2 separate regions of the Homo sapiens genome follow, and region 2 is linked to region 1. Evidence: promoter capture Hi-C in human tissues and cell types (Jung and others, 2019). All regions are on one chromosome and are shown on one strand. The core of a region is centred on a gene start or on the middle of the fragment in contact, and the rest is flanking DNA. Distances in the headings are between cores, read along the strand shown.

The links. The method cuts DNA at HindIII sites, captures the fragments that hold promoters and counts their contacts. A contact is called where the count stands out against the background at its distance.
Region 2: a fragment that was not itself captured here is called in contact with the fragment with the promoter of SLC3A1 in region 1 in 1 of the 25 tissues and cell types used here (aorta).

The regions. Positions count from the first base shown.
Region 1 is chr2:44,271,137-44,278,571 of GRCh38, reverse strand. SLC3A1 (solute carrier family 3 member 1) reads right to left here and starts at 3,092. Exons shown (of 10, transcript NM_000341.4): 1 at 2,607-3,092. The coding sequence starts at 3,036. It also overlaps the pseudogene RPL12P19. The HindIII fragment of the contact is 25,171 bases long and covers 1-7,424 here.
Region 2 is chr2:44,695,039-44,702,473 of GRCh38, reverse strand. All of the region lies in intron 3 of CAMKMT (calmodulin-lysine N-methyltransferase), which reads right to left. Among named protein-coding and RNA genes, the nearest start is that of LINC01833, 240 kb to the left of the region's middle. The HindIII fragment of the contact is 7,126 bases long and covers 1,381-7,435 here.

The sequences.
Region 1 (7,435 bases), core at 1,843-4,342:
AGGCTGAAGGTCACTAATTCCAAAGCACAGAGTCATTCGACACCTGGGATCTGGGCTTTTCCCCTATAACACACTGCTTATTTATTTTATTTTATTTTATTTATTTATTTATTTATTTATTTTTGAGATGGAGTCTCGCTCTGTCGCCCAGGCTGGAGTGCAGTGGTGCGATCTTAGCTCACTGCAACCTCCGCCTCCTGGGTTCACGCCATTCTCCTGCCTCAGCCACCCAAATAGCTGGGAATACAGGCACCCGCCACCACGCCCAGCTGATTTTTTTTGTATTTTTTTAGTAGAGACGGGGTTTCACCGTGTTAGCCAGGATGGTCTCAATCTCCTGACCTCGTGATCCACCTGCCTCGGCCTCCCAAAGTGCTGGGATTACAGGCGTGAGCCACCACGCCTGGCCTGACAGGCTGCTTATTTCTGTCTCTGTACCCCAGTTCCCCCATATGGGTAGCTGCAAGATCTCACACGGTATCAACAGGCAGCAAGAGGGTTTTGATCTAAGCCAGCACAGCAACAAAATATATCTTATGATGAGGCACAAAGGAACATGAGGATGAAAACAAAGTGGCTGGAGAAAGTAAACAAGGGATCCCACCCCACATTTTAGAAGGAGAGAGGGCAATCACCAAAACCAGACTCAAAGCTGGAATGGGATCTTCATAATAACAACAATGAAATCCCTTCAACCTCAAAGACAAATGCCTATGGATTGCAGGAAGTAAAACATTCCTCCAAGAACAGGTATTGGAAATGACAAACATCAGAGCTGATTAGAAACCACCATGTTTACAGGAATGTTGGACCTATCCAGAAGGAGATTATTAAGAAGGCAGGGCCAGGAAGTGGTAAACATATCTCTGGATTTAGGGCTTTAGGTCTATGCAGTCAGAGCATTGCTTTTCCTAAGCACTCAATGTGCAAAAGGCAGCAGGTCATAGGTCATGAGTCAGGGGAAAGGGAGTCACTCAAGGCAGGATTAAAGGATGCTAGAAACACATCCAAAGCCGAAGATCTGGGGTGGGGAGCCCATGGTCTGATTAGGGAGGCTAAAGAAAGAGTAATGAAGGCAATGGGTTTGAGCTGCACCATGAAGGACAGATACACTCTTCTTCAATGAGTGACAATGCAGGATGATTTTTAAAACGAGAATGATACAGCCGGATGCGGTGGCTCATGCCTGTAATCCCAGAGTTTTGGGAGGCCAAGGGGGGGCAAATCACCTGAGGTCAGGAGTTCGAGACTAGCCTGACCAACATGGAGAACCCTCGTCTCTATTAAAAATACAAAATTAGCCAGGCATGATGGTGCATGCCTGTAATCCCTGCTACTCGGAACGCTGAGCCGAGAGAATTGCTTGAACCCAGGTGACGGAGGTTGCAGTGAGCTGAGATTATGCCATTGCACTCCAGCCTGGGCAACAAGAGTGAAACTCCATCACAAAAAAAAAAAAAAAAAAAAAGAAGAGAGAGAATGATAGGAGCGTGAAAAAGAAAAGCCTTCTACTAGTGATTAAAGAAAGCTGCAGGTTTCAAGAATTCATTTGTAGCATTTTAAAGATACATTAAGCCCATTCCTACTTTCCACATTCATATCATCCTGTTTTGTTTTCTTCAAACCAATTATCATTGTAAAACATTAGTTTGTTAGTTTCCTTATTTGTTTCCTATTGTTGCCTTGAAGTAGAGTGACCATACCAACCAATTTGCTCAGAAGTTCCCAGTGTATGCCTGCCATCTGGCATAATTTTACTCTGAAGTATGTTCTGGTTTGAGCAATATATTGTAAGGATGTTTTACACATAACCCACCAAGAAATTAACTTAGCTTTTAAAAAATAATTTTTCACTTTTTTTTTTTTCTTTTTGGAGACGGGGTCTCCCTATGTTGCCTAAGCTGGCTGGCTGAGAGCTCCTGGGCTCAAGCGATCCTCCCACCTCAGCCTCCCAAGTAGCTGCAACTACAGTCATGCGCCACTACCCCTGGTTAATTCTTTACTTGTTTTATACTAATACGGACATGGTTTTAAACAATCCTTAATTCAAGTAATGACGAATGCATACTGCTACCCCTTTTCTACTTCCCTTCCTTTTTTAGAATTTAAACTTTAAGACTCAGCCTATACTTTTTACAGATATCACTTGATTTTTAAAAAAATATTATTTATGCTTTATTCACTAATACACTCCCAGCCACACAGCCAAACTAGCTGCTTCGTATACTGGGAAAGCAATTCCCAACTGCCACCCTGACATATTCAACTATAAAGTCCCCAGAAACAGGACATAGATTTTAGAAGGAAGGCTGCTCTAAGAAGTTAGAATTGATGACTGAACAACTGTATGTACTTAGTGGGCAATAAATTAAACAACTCGTTTGGCTCAAAGGCCTTCAGCAAATAGCCCTTCAGCTAGTAAAATAACTGCTGGGTTCTGCTGAGTGATTTTCTAAGAATATCATAAACAAGGAGCAACTTGGCATGACCAGTCATAATGGAATGTGCTTACTGAACAACCCAGGCATAATTTGGTTCTGAAGAACAAAAGAACCATAAACCAATCTCATCCTGGCACCCACCCTAAATGATCTCTGGGCATGTACCTTTCAGATCTCCGTTCCCATCCTTGTTACTGTCCTTGAAAGACCTTGGGTAGATCTGGTACATGGGCCCCTCCTGCCACCAGTCTAGGCACTTTGGAGAGAGGGCAATGATGGCTATGGTGGCCGCGATGAGCACCAGCACAGAAGCCACTGTGAGCCAGAAGAGGATCTCCCGAGGTATGCGGTAGCGGGCCTGGCCAGAGAACTGGAACAGCACCTCCTTGGGCATCCCCGCATAGGGCTGGACGCCCTTGAAGTCGGGCTCCTGGGAGCCAAGGATGCCCCTGGTGCTGTGCTTCAGGTTGTCTGTTGAGCTTCCTGGATCCGGGGTCTGCTCCAGAATGTCTTCATTATGGACAAACCCGTTGTTTGTCTGGCATCCCTTCATACTCATCTCGATGGAGTCTCTCTTGCTTTTATCTTCAGCCATGTCTCACCGACTTATGTCTTCGGAGTGCCTTCCTGCAGTAAGGGAGGTGGAAGAGTGGCTTGCTGAATGCTTGGTCTTGTTAATGAACTTTGTGTGGTTTATAAATAAACCTAGCTGGACAAAGTCCAGCCAAGGAAGAAAGGGTAAAAGTACAGAGGTTTAAAAAAAAAATCTCGGGACTGGCGCGGTGGTTCATGCCTGTAATCCCAGCACTTTGGGAGGCCGAGGCGGGCAGATCACCAAGGGCAGGAGTTTGAGACTAGCCTGGCCAACATGGCCAAACCCCGTCTCTACTAAAGGTATAAAAATTAGCCAGGCGTGGTGGTGTGCACCTGTAATCCCAGCTGCTCGGGAGGCTGAGGCAGGAGAATCGTTTGACCCCGGAAGACAGACGTTGCAGTGAGCCGAGATCGTACCACTGCACTCCAGCCTGGGCGACAAGAGCGAGAATCCATCCCACAAAAAAAAAAAAAATCTCCACTGGGCATCTTGGCTCACACCTGTAATCCCAGCAGTTTGGGAGGCTGAGGCAGGCAGGTCACCCGAGGTCAAGAGTTTAAGACCAGCCTGGCCAACATGGTGAAACCCCGTCTCTACTAAAAATACAAAAATTAGCCGGGCGTGGTGGTGCATGCCTGTAATCCCAGCTACTCAGGAGGCTGAGGCAGGAGAATCACTTGAACCCAGGAGGCAGAGGTTGCAGTGAGCTGACATCGAGCCATGGCACTCCACCCTGGGTGACAGAGGGAGACTCTGTCTCAAAAAATAAAATAAATAAATAAGAAAGAAAATAAAAATAAAATGAAACTAAAAATAAATTAAAAAATTAAAAATTGGAAACAACCCAGGTAGCTATCATCAGATGGATAGATAAACAATGTGGTTATACATATAGTGAAATATTATTCAGCTTTGAAAAGGAATGAAGGCTGGGCATGGTGGATCACGCCTGTAATCCCAACACTTTGGGAGGACAAGGCGGGTGGATCACTTGAGGTCAGGAATTGGAGACCAGCCTGGCCAACATGGCAAAACCCATCTCTATTAAAAATACAAAAATTAGGCCAGGCGCGGTGGCTCACGCCTGTAATCTCAATACTTTAGGAGGCCGAGGCCAGTGAATCACCTGAGGTTGGGAGTTCAAGACCAGCCTGACCAACATGGAGAAACCCCGTCTCTACTAAAAATACAAAATTAGCCAGGTGTGGTGGCGCATGCCTGTAGTCCCAGCTACTTGGGAGGCTGAGGCAGGAGAATCGGTTGAACCTGGAAGGCGGAGGTTGCGGTGAATGGAGATCACGCCATTGCGGTCCAGCCTGGGCAACAAGAGTGAAACTCCATCTCAAAAAAAAAAAAAAAAAAAATAGCTGGGCATGGGGACATATGCTGTAATTCCAGCTACTTGGGAGGCTGAGGCAGGAGAATCGCTTGAACCCAGGAGGCAGAAGTTGCAATGAGCTGAGATAGCACCACTGCACTCCAGCTTGGGTGATGGAGTGAGACTGTCTCCAATACATAAATAAAGGACTGAAATTCTGACACATGCTGCAACATAGATGAACCTGGAGGACATTATGCTAAGTGCAATAAGCCAGACCCAAAAGGGCAAGTGTGATTTCACTTAGATGAGGTATCTTGAGTAGTAGGATTCATAGGAACAGAAAATAGAAACGTGGTTACTGGAGGTTGGAGGAAGGGAATAATGGGGAGTTATTGTTCATTGGGCAGAGAATTTCAGTTTGGGATGATGAAAAGTATTCCTGAGATGATAGTGGTGATGGTTGCATAACAGTATAAACATACGTAATGCCACTGAAATGTTACAGATGTTTTACCACAACTTTTTTTAAAGCTTAAAGCTTTCTCTATTTAGCCAGGTATAAGAAAAATGACTTTGGGGGGAAATTATTTTTCTTATACATGGTTAAATAGAGAAAGTGGGAAGATAGCTTAAGCCCAGGAGTTGGAGACCAGCCTGGACAATATAGTAACACCTCATCTCTACAAAAGAAATTTAAAATTAGCTGAACATGGTGGTGCACCCATGTAGTCCCAATTACTCAGGAGGCAGGCTGATGTGGGAGGATCACTTGAGCCCAGGAGGCAGAGGTTGCAGTGAGCTGAGATGAGCCGAGGAGACAGAGGTTGCAGTGAGCTGAGATCACGCCACTGCACTCCAGCCTGGGTGACAGAGCAAGATTCTGTCTCAACAACAACAAAAAGGAATGTAATGATTTATGATGTCCCTTTCATCAGGAGCACATACAGTCCTATGAATCGTTTGATCTGATAATGAGACTTTTTTTTCTTTTAAATGATGATAGTTATCTGGGGCCCTAATCTTAGTGTCTCTTTGTGGAGTGGCTTAGAAGCATTGTATAGTATAGAGGTATGGAGGAATGAGCTACTTGATCTTGGACAAATTACATTTAAAACTGAGTAAATCCCAATACTTGGCTCATTGAATGCACCCAGTGATACCTCTCATTATTATTAATTATGCCCATTGAATATTTTTTATTTTTATTTTTTGAGATGGAGTTTCACTCTTATTGCCCAGGCTGGAGTGCAATGGCGTGATCTCAGCTCACCCACAACCTCCACCTCCCGGGTTCAACCGATTCTCCTGCCTCAGCCTGCTGTGCAGCTGGGATTACAGGTGCCCGCCAACACACCCAGCTAATTTTTTGTATTTTCAGTAGAGACAGGGTTTCACTAAGTTGGCCAGACTGCTCTCCGACTCCTGACCTCAGGTGATCCACCTGACTCGGCCTCCCAAAGTGCTGGGATTATAGGCGTGAGCCACCATGCCATGCCCCAAATCATTTTCTAACAAAGAGCAGCCAGTAAAGTCAAGCTGCAGACATAGACAAGCAAGCCGGGAGCTTGCACAGGTGGATGCGACAGGAAAGAACTACCTGGGACTAGACATGTTCAAAATGGCGGCTGCACCTCCCCTTCTCTGCCAGCCACGTGTACAGTAAGGAGCAGACAAGATGGCACCGGCCAAGTGGAGAGTTCATTTGCATAATAAGATTAGAGTGGGGCCACCAGCCTTCCCTGTGTGCTATGTAAACGTCACACCTGACCCAAAAAACCTGTGAGCCCTACCTAAATCAGACACGGCCTCCTCAAGCTGGACTATAAAATCTGGCGTATCCACCAGCTGACCTTTTCCTCTTGGAAGTCCCTTCTTTCTCACTAGAGAGAGAGCTATTTTCCTTTGTCTTTCTCCTTCTTCCGCCTATTAAACCTCTGCTCCTGGCCAGGCGCCGTGGCTCAGGCCTGTAATCCCAGCACTTTTGGAGGCCAAGGCGGGCAGATCACCTGAGGTCAGGAGTTGAGGACAAGCCTGACAAACATGAGGAAACCCTGTCTCTACTCAAAAATACAAAATTAGCTGGGCGGGGTGGCGTGCGCCTGTAATCCCAGCTACTCAGGAGGCTAAGGCAGGATTGCTTGAGCCCAGGAGGCCAAGACTGCAGTGAGCTGTGATCACCCCACTGCACTCCAGCCTAGGTGACAGAGTGAGGTTCAAAACAAAAAAAGAATATACACCACAGTTTATAAGTGGGCATGTGGGATTTTTTTCGTTTGTTTTTGGCTATTATAAATAAAATTGCTACGAGCAATCATGTACAACTCTTTCTAAGGATATAGCTTCCTTCTCTCTTAGGAACCAACTAGCAGTGAAATAGCTGGATAATATGGTAAGTGTATAATTAATGTTTAAGAAACTGCCAAACTGTTTTGGAAAGTAGTTGTATTGAGGCAGGAGAATATAGGGATTGGAGGCAGGGAACCTAAGGCTGTTTCACGCAGCATTCCTAGAACTAAACTGAAAGGAAAACCCTAACTTTACATGCCTAAATCACAAAAGGACCAGAGGCTACTCCCTTTGCAAACCCCCCACCTTTTCTGCCAGGCATGGGAAATTGGCAACCAATCAGACTGATTGCGGGTTGAGTCTTCCTTTGCAACTTTGTAACTTCACTCCAGCCTCCGAATGGTTGGTTGCTGTCCACAACCAATCAGACTGATTGCGGGCGGAGTCTTCGTTTGCATAGAAGTATAAATTTGTAACTTCACCCTAGCCTCTGATTGGTTGCTTTCTGCAACCAATCATACGTTTGCACAGGAGTGTCACTTTTGTAACCACGTCATCCTCTGGTTGGCTGCTTTCTGCAATCAATCAGACTGATTGTGGGCTACCACTTCATTTACCTGAGGTGGGCATGAAGTAGCCAATGGGAAACTTCTAGAGGGTATTTGGACCCAAGAAGATTCTGTATCCGGGGCCCTTGAGCCACTGCTCAGCACGCTCTCGCACTGTGGAGTGTACTTTCATTTTCAATAAATCCCTGCTTTCGTTCTTTTTTAACCAGTTGTCAAATGATCC
Region 2 (7,435 bases), core at 3,694-6,193, 420 kb before region 1:
AAAATACATGCCTATGTTTAGAATGGTTCCTAACACATAATAAGATCAAAGAAAAAGAAAGCATTGTTAATGTTATTCTCCAGCAAAGAGGGATGGAAGAGTGGAAGAGAGAATATGTGAATCCAAAATTCGTATCCCAATAACCAGAAAAATGGAAAACCATTTTGACCTGTTACTGCAAATCCTAATACCGGTCATATCTCCACATAAAAATAACTCTATTAAGACCAAAGTATAAATAAAAGTCTCTGAAGGAAGAGCATAAGACAATGCTCTACACCAAGTGAACATAATCACCACTATAATGAATTTCTTTATGCCTTTAGCTTGAGGTTTTAAAAAAATGATAGACAAAGAGTATCTAACTAAAATTTAAGCCTTGATTAAGTACAAAAATGCGACTTCTAAAATGCAGTACTTTGTAATAGTTTTATAATTGTCTCAAAAAATTATAGAGGCTGATTTTTAACAAAATTACATACAAAGAACAAAGTAAAAAAAAAAATCACGTAAAATGTGACCACTAGGATATAATCACTGTTAACATTTTGGACGTCATCTCAAAAGATCTTTCTAGGCAAACAGATATTTTACACCAATGGGATCTTTTCATGAAGATATTCAATAACCTGATTTTCCCTCATTCAATATGTGGTAGATAGCTTTACTAGAAAATAAAAATGTACTTTACCTGCATCATTATTTATAATGATTGCTTAGACATTCTATGTGTGAATCAGAATTCATTTAACCAGTTTCCTCTTGACAGACATTTAAGTTAGTTTCAAAGTTGTTGATATGATGAGATTATTGTGTTGATGCAAAAGTAATTGTGGTTTTTGCCATTAACATCAACAGTAGTACAATATGACAACCCATCTTTTCCCAACCTATGGTTTTCTCCTTAGGTCAAATACTAGGAAATGGGATATCTGGTCAGAGGTTACATATATTTTGCATTTAAATATATCAAACTGACCTCCATAAAATGTGCACCAAGTTACACTCCTAATCAGAGTGTTTGTTTCCTCAAAGCCTTGCCCAGATAGGATTTTTTCAACATAACTAATTTTTGCTAATCTAAGTTTTTAAAAGTTATCTCAGTGAAAATCAAAACCTAAATGAGATACCACTTCACACCCACTAGGATGGCTACAATCAAATAGTCAGGTTATAACGAATGTTGGGCTGGTGAGGATGTGGAGAAATTGGAACCCTGATGCACTGCTGGTGGGAATGTAAAATCATGTAGCCACTTTGGAAAATTGTGTAGCAGTTCCTTAAAAGGTTAAATGTAGATTATAATATGACCCAGCAATTCCACTGCTACCCAAGATAAATCAAAATATGTCCAACAAAAACTTGTACACGAATGCTCATAGCAGCATTGTTCTTAGTAGCCCAAAAGTGGAAACAACCCCAATGTCCATCAACTGACTAACGGATAAATAAAATGTGGTACGTCCATACAATGGATTATTATTTGACAATAAAAGAAGAACTGATACATGCTACAACATAGATGGGACTTGAAAACGTTATACAGGCAATACTCCATTTTATTGCAGCTTTCTTTATTGTGCTTTGTAGATGCTGCATATCTACAGTTTTACAAATTGAAGGTTTGTGGCAACCCTGCACCGAGCAAGTCCATTGGTGCCATTTTTCCAACAGCATGTGCTCAACTAGTGTCTCTGTGACAGATTTTGGTCATTCTCACAATATTTCAAAATTTTTCATTATTATTATATCTGATATGGTGATCTGTGATCAATGACCTTTGATGTTACTATGGTAATTGTTTTGGGGCGGCATGAATTGCGTCCATATAAGATAGCTAGCAAACTTAATCAATAAATCTTGTGTGTGTTCTGACTTCTCCACCAGTCGGCATTCCCCCATCTCTCTCCCTCTCCCCAGGCCTCCCTATTATTAGGCTAATTAATAAACTTAACAAATGGTCTCTAAGTGTTCAAGTGAAAGGAATAGTTGCATGTCTCTCACTTTAAATCAAAAGCTAGAAATGATTCCACTTATGGAGAAGGCATGTTGAAAGCTGAGATAGGCTGAAAGCTAGGCCTCTTGCACTAAACAGACAAGTTGTGAATGTAAAAGAAAAGTTCTTGAAGGAACTTAAAAGTGTTACTCCAGTGAACACACGAATGATAAGAAGACAAAACAGCCTTATTGCTGATATGGAGAAAGTTTTAGTGGTCTGGATAGATCAAACCAGCCACAACGTTCTCTTAAGCCAAAGCCCAATCCAGAGCAAGGCCCTAACTCTTCAATTCTATGAAGGCTGAAGGTGAGGAATCTGCAGAAGAAAAGTTTGAAGCTAGTGGAGGTTAGTTCAAGATGTTTAAATAAAGAAGCCATTTCTGTAACACAAAAGTGCAAGGCAAAGCAGTAAGTGCTGATGTAGAAGCTGTAGCAAGTTATCCAGAAGATGTAGCTAAGATCACTGATGAAGATGACTACACTAACCAACAGATTTTCAATGCAGACAAACATTGGAAGCCTTCCATTGGAAGCAGATGCCATCTAGGACTTTGGTAGCTAGAGAGAATTCACTGCCTGGCTTCAAAGATCCAAAGGACAGGCTGAGTCTCTTGTTAGGGGCTAGTGCGGCTGGTGACTAAGTTGATGCCAATGCTCTGCACCATTCTAAAAATCATAGCGCCTTTAAGAATTATGCTAAGTCTAGCCTGGCTCAGTGGCAGGTGCCTATCGGGCTACTCAGGAGGGCGAGGAAGGAGGATTGCTTGAGTAAGCCCAGGAGCTGGAGGCTGTAGTGGGCTAGGATTGAATATGTGAATAGCCACTGCACTCCACCCTGGACAACATAGTGAAACCCTGTCTCTTAAAAAAAAAATAAGAGAAAAGGAATTATGCAAAATCTACTCTGCTTATGCTCTATAAATGGAACAGTAAAGCCTGGATGATAGTACATCTGTTTATAGCATGGTTTACTGAATATTTTAAGCTCACTGCTAAGACCTACTGCTCCGAAAAAAGCACTTCCCTTCAAAATATTATATACTGCTCATTGACAATGCACCTGGTCACCAAAGGGCACTGATGGAGATATGCAAGGAGATTAATGTTGTTTCCATGCCTGCTAACACAGCATCCATTCTGTAGTCCATGGATCAAGGAGTCATTTTGACTTTCAAATCTTATTATTTCAGAAATACATTTCATAAGGATATAGCTGCCAAATACAGTGATTCTTCTGATGCATCTGAGCAAAGTCAGTTGAAAATCTTCTGGAAAGGACTCACTATTCTAGATGCCATTAAGAACATTTGTGAGTCATGGGAGGAGGTCAAAATATCAGTGTTAACAGGAGTTGGAAGAATTGATTTCAACATTCGTGGATGATTTTGAGAGGTGGAAATAGCAAGAGAACTAGAATGAGAAATGGAGCCTGAAGACGTGACTGAATTGCTGCAATCTCATGATCAAACCTGAAAGGATGAGGAGTTCCTTCTTACGCACGGGTAAAGAAGGTAGTTTCTTAAGATGGAATCAATTCCTGGTGAAGATGCTGTGAACACTGTCGAAATTACAACAAAGGATTTAGAATATTACATAAACTGAGTTGATAAAGCAGTGGCAGGGTTTGAGAGGATTGACTCCAATTTCGAAAGAAGTTCTACTGTGGGTAAAATGCTGTCAAATAGCATCGCATGCTACAGCGAAATCTTTCCTGAAAGGAAGAGTCAACCAATGTGGCAAACTGCATTGTCTTATTTTAAGAAATTGCCACAGCCACCCTAACTTTCAGCAACCATCACCCTGCTAACCATCAGTTAGCAGCCATCATCAAGGCAAGACCCTCTGCCAGCAAAAAGATGACAACTCACAGAAAGCTCAGATAATCATTAGTATTTTTTAGCAATAAAGTATTTTTAGTAAGGTATGTGCATCTTTTTAGACATAATGCTATTGCACACTTAAGCTACAGTATAGTGCAAACTTTTATATGCACCAGGAAAGCAAAGAATTTGTGTGACTTACTTTATTGTGATATTCACTTAATTGCAGTGGTCTGGAACCAAACCCTCAATATCTCCAAGGTATGCCTGTACTGAGTGAAAGAAACCAGTTACAAAGGACCACATGTTGTATGTTTTTATTTATATGAAATATCCAGAATAGGTATATTCATAAAGATGGAGTGTGGCATGGTAACTGCCCAGGGCAACAATGGTTAGGTGTAAATGGAGCATGACTGCCAATGAGTATAAGGTTTCTTTTGGAGGTGACAAAATATTCTAAAATTGTGGTGACAGTTGCACAAGTGTGTGAATACACTAACTACCACTGGATGAATTGTATGGTATGTGAATTATATCTCAATAAAGCTGCTACTTTTTAAAGTTTTCTCATTCTTATTTGTGGGAATAAAATTGCCTTTCAAAAAGATTTTCTTTTCAAATTAGTTATAGAGACACATAGTTTAAAGAGCCATTGGGATCTATTAGAATGGCTAAGACAAACAGTAGCACCAAGCCCCTTTCCCCAGTATTTCTGCTTCCCCAGAAACTATTACTTTCAACTCTTTTAGCTAACTCTTCTGGTAATTGTGTTTATATTTCTACATAATAAGTTTGTATTGTTGCTTCTTGATTTTTCAGTTTCAAGCAAAATCTACTGACCCCTCACTGTGCAAAATTAGCATTTTTTGCTTTTATCTCTATTCCTCTTCCCACATCACATATGTGTGCCCCTTATCCACCCCACGCCATCTGCTTAATATTATATTTTAATATTACAATAATAGTTATAATGTTAAAATTTTGGTAAGATCACTCCCCAGTTGATTTTATTATGACTAGGAAATAAAACAGCTATGTAGTAAACTATGATTGTTTTTTCTTTCATGCACACATTTTTGTTTTCTCTGGAGTTTATAAAGGTCTTTTCCCCCCTCATTTGCTAAGATTTTTAGGCAACCTCAAACTTCAGTTGTCAATTTCTCCTCTCAATACATTCATTCACAATGGGTGTTCTATCAACCTTATGAGGAAATCTCTCCTGGTATCTTCTAACCTGCCTTAGTCTGGACTGAATGCCCTCTATGCTTGGTACACAGCTGACAGCCTAATCTTCACTATCATCCCAGGCTCCTTTTGCCTTTCTCCTGGGTTCCATCTCTTGTTTCCTCTACCCATTGTCTTCCTCTTTCTTGGTTTATTCCCTCATTTTAGTGTAACACGTCCTCCAGTAGTTTCTTGAAAAAGGGGGTAGGAGAGGTAAATGTTTAAGAACTTGCATGATTCAGTGGGTAATTTCAATCCAGAAACTCCATGTTCTTCAGTTCTTGGAAAGTTTCTTACAAAGTATCATCGATTATTTCCTTACTCCATATTTCTCTGTTCTCTTCTTCTGCAACTGTTATTATTTGGATGTTGAATCTCCTGAACTCATCCTTTTATTTTAAAAAATCTTTTCTTTCTTGCTTTGCATCTCTTATTGTTTTCTACTTTCTTGGAAATGTCCTCAACTTTATCTTCTAACCTTTTTATTGTTCTTTTAATATATGCTATTGTTATTGATGGTCATTCTCTGAATGTTTCTTTTATAAGCATCCTATTCCTGTTTCATGAATGCAATGTCTTAATTATTTGAAAGTATTAATTATAGTTTCTTTTAAGTTTTCTCATCTTTATAAAGTCTGTTTTTTTCAAGTTGTTTTTTTCTGTTTCTTGGTTTTGTTATCTGTCACATTAAAAGCTTCCCTCAGGTATCTGGTAATTCTGGAAGTAAAGAAGGCTGAGTGTAGGTGAGTGGGGTGAGGGTGTGGGGCTCATCATTCAGTCTGCATATGTTCACTTAGTCACTCCACCTGGCTTTTCGTATTCTCTGCTTTCAACTGTACCTGGTGTCTCCCAAGCCCAAAATCCCCAGTTTAACCCTCTCCAAAGAATAAACCTCCAGTTTTTTGTTGGAGTAGAGGGAGAAGAGTTGCCCAGTCACCTGAAATGGGGATATAACTACTTCTTAAACAACTTTCAATCAATTCTCCTTAGTTTCATCCCCTTCAACTCCTTCTTTTAGAAGTACAACTGCCCCTCAATATTTGTGGGGGATTAGTTCTAGGACTCCTCCACTCCATACCAAAATTTGCAGATATTAAAGTCCCTTATATAACATGATGTAGTATTTGCATGCATATCCAATATAAGTGCTATGTAAATATTTGCTATAATGTTTTTAAACATTTTTGGCCGGGCACAGTGGCTCACGCCTGTAATCCCAGCACTTTGGGAGGCTGAGGCGGGCAGATCACTTAAGGTCAGGAGTTCAAGACAACCCTGGCCAACATAGTGAAACCCCGTTTCTACTAAAAATACAAAAATTAGCCAGGCATGGTGGTGTACGCCTATAATTCCAGTTATTCGGGAGGCTGAGGCAGGAAAATCGCCTGAACCTGGGAGTTGGAGGTTGCAGTGAGCCGAGATCACGCCACTCCACTCCAGCCTGGGTGACAGAGTGAGACCCTGTCTCAAAAAATAAAATAAAATAAAAATTTTTGTGTTATTTTTAGTCTTTTTTTTTTTTTGAATATTTTGGATCAGAGGTTGGCTGAATCCTCAGATGCAGAATCCATGGATACGGAGAACCAGCTACATCTGATGCCACCGATTTCCGAGCCTTCAAGGCTCCAGAAGTTTAAATTGGGTTGATTCTCAGCTTTGCCAACTGCTGGCTTTCTCATATCTGCTAAGTCAATGCATTTGCCTTCCAGCTTCCAAAATTTTATTGCTATTGCATGCTGCCCCTTAAAATGGCCAATGTGTCATTCACGTGGGTTTATGCCTTAAAAAACATCCCTATGTAGAGGTTTAGTGAGGTTTCTTAAAGGAGTGCATTGTTCAGTCTCCAAGTTTACCTGAAACCTAGAAATGCATGGTCTTTTGAATATAGTTTTGTAGGACAGTTCTGGAATCCAAGACATATTCTTATCTCTTCCAGAGTACATTTTAGCATCAATGCTTTAAGCTCAGAATGGTGGGGTTTCATTCACTCATTCTGGAAGAATAGTGAGTAGGGGGACTTCATAGACTAGAGAGAAATTCATTGGAAAGGTGGTGAGAATAATTTTTAGGAGAAGGACGTACAAGACAAGAACACTAATGATGAGATCCCAAGGTTCTTATGTTCCCTTAATAATATTATAGTACTATGGTTATTAACTGGGTGATGAAATAATCTGTACACCAGACCTCCGTGACATGCAATTTATCTGTAAAACAAACCTGCACATGTACCTCTGAACTTAAAATAAAAGTTTAAAAAAATAGATTATAATGCTTATCTGAAAATTATAGCACTTCTGCTACATTATTGACGTCACTCAATGAAGTGCTGCAGAATGCCCAAAGTGGCATTTATAGTAGCTAAAGTGTTAATCTAAAAAAGCATCCCC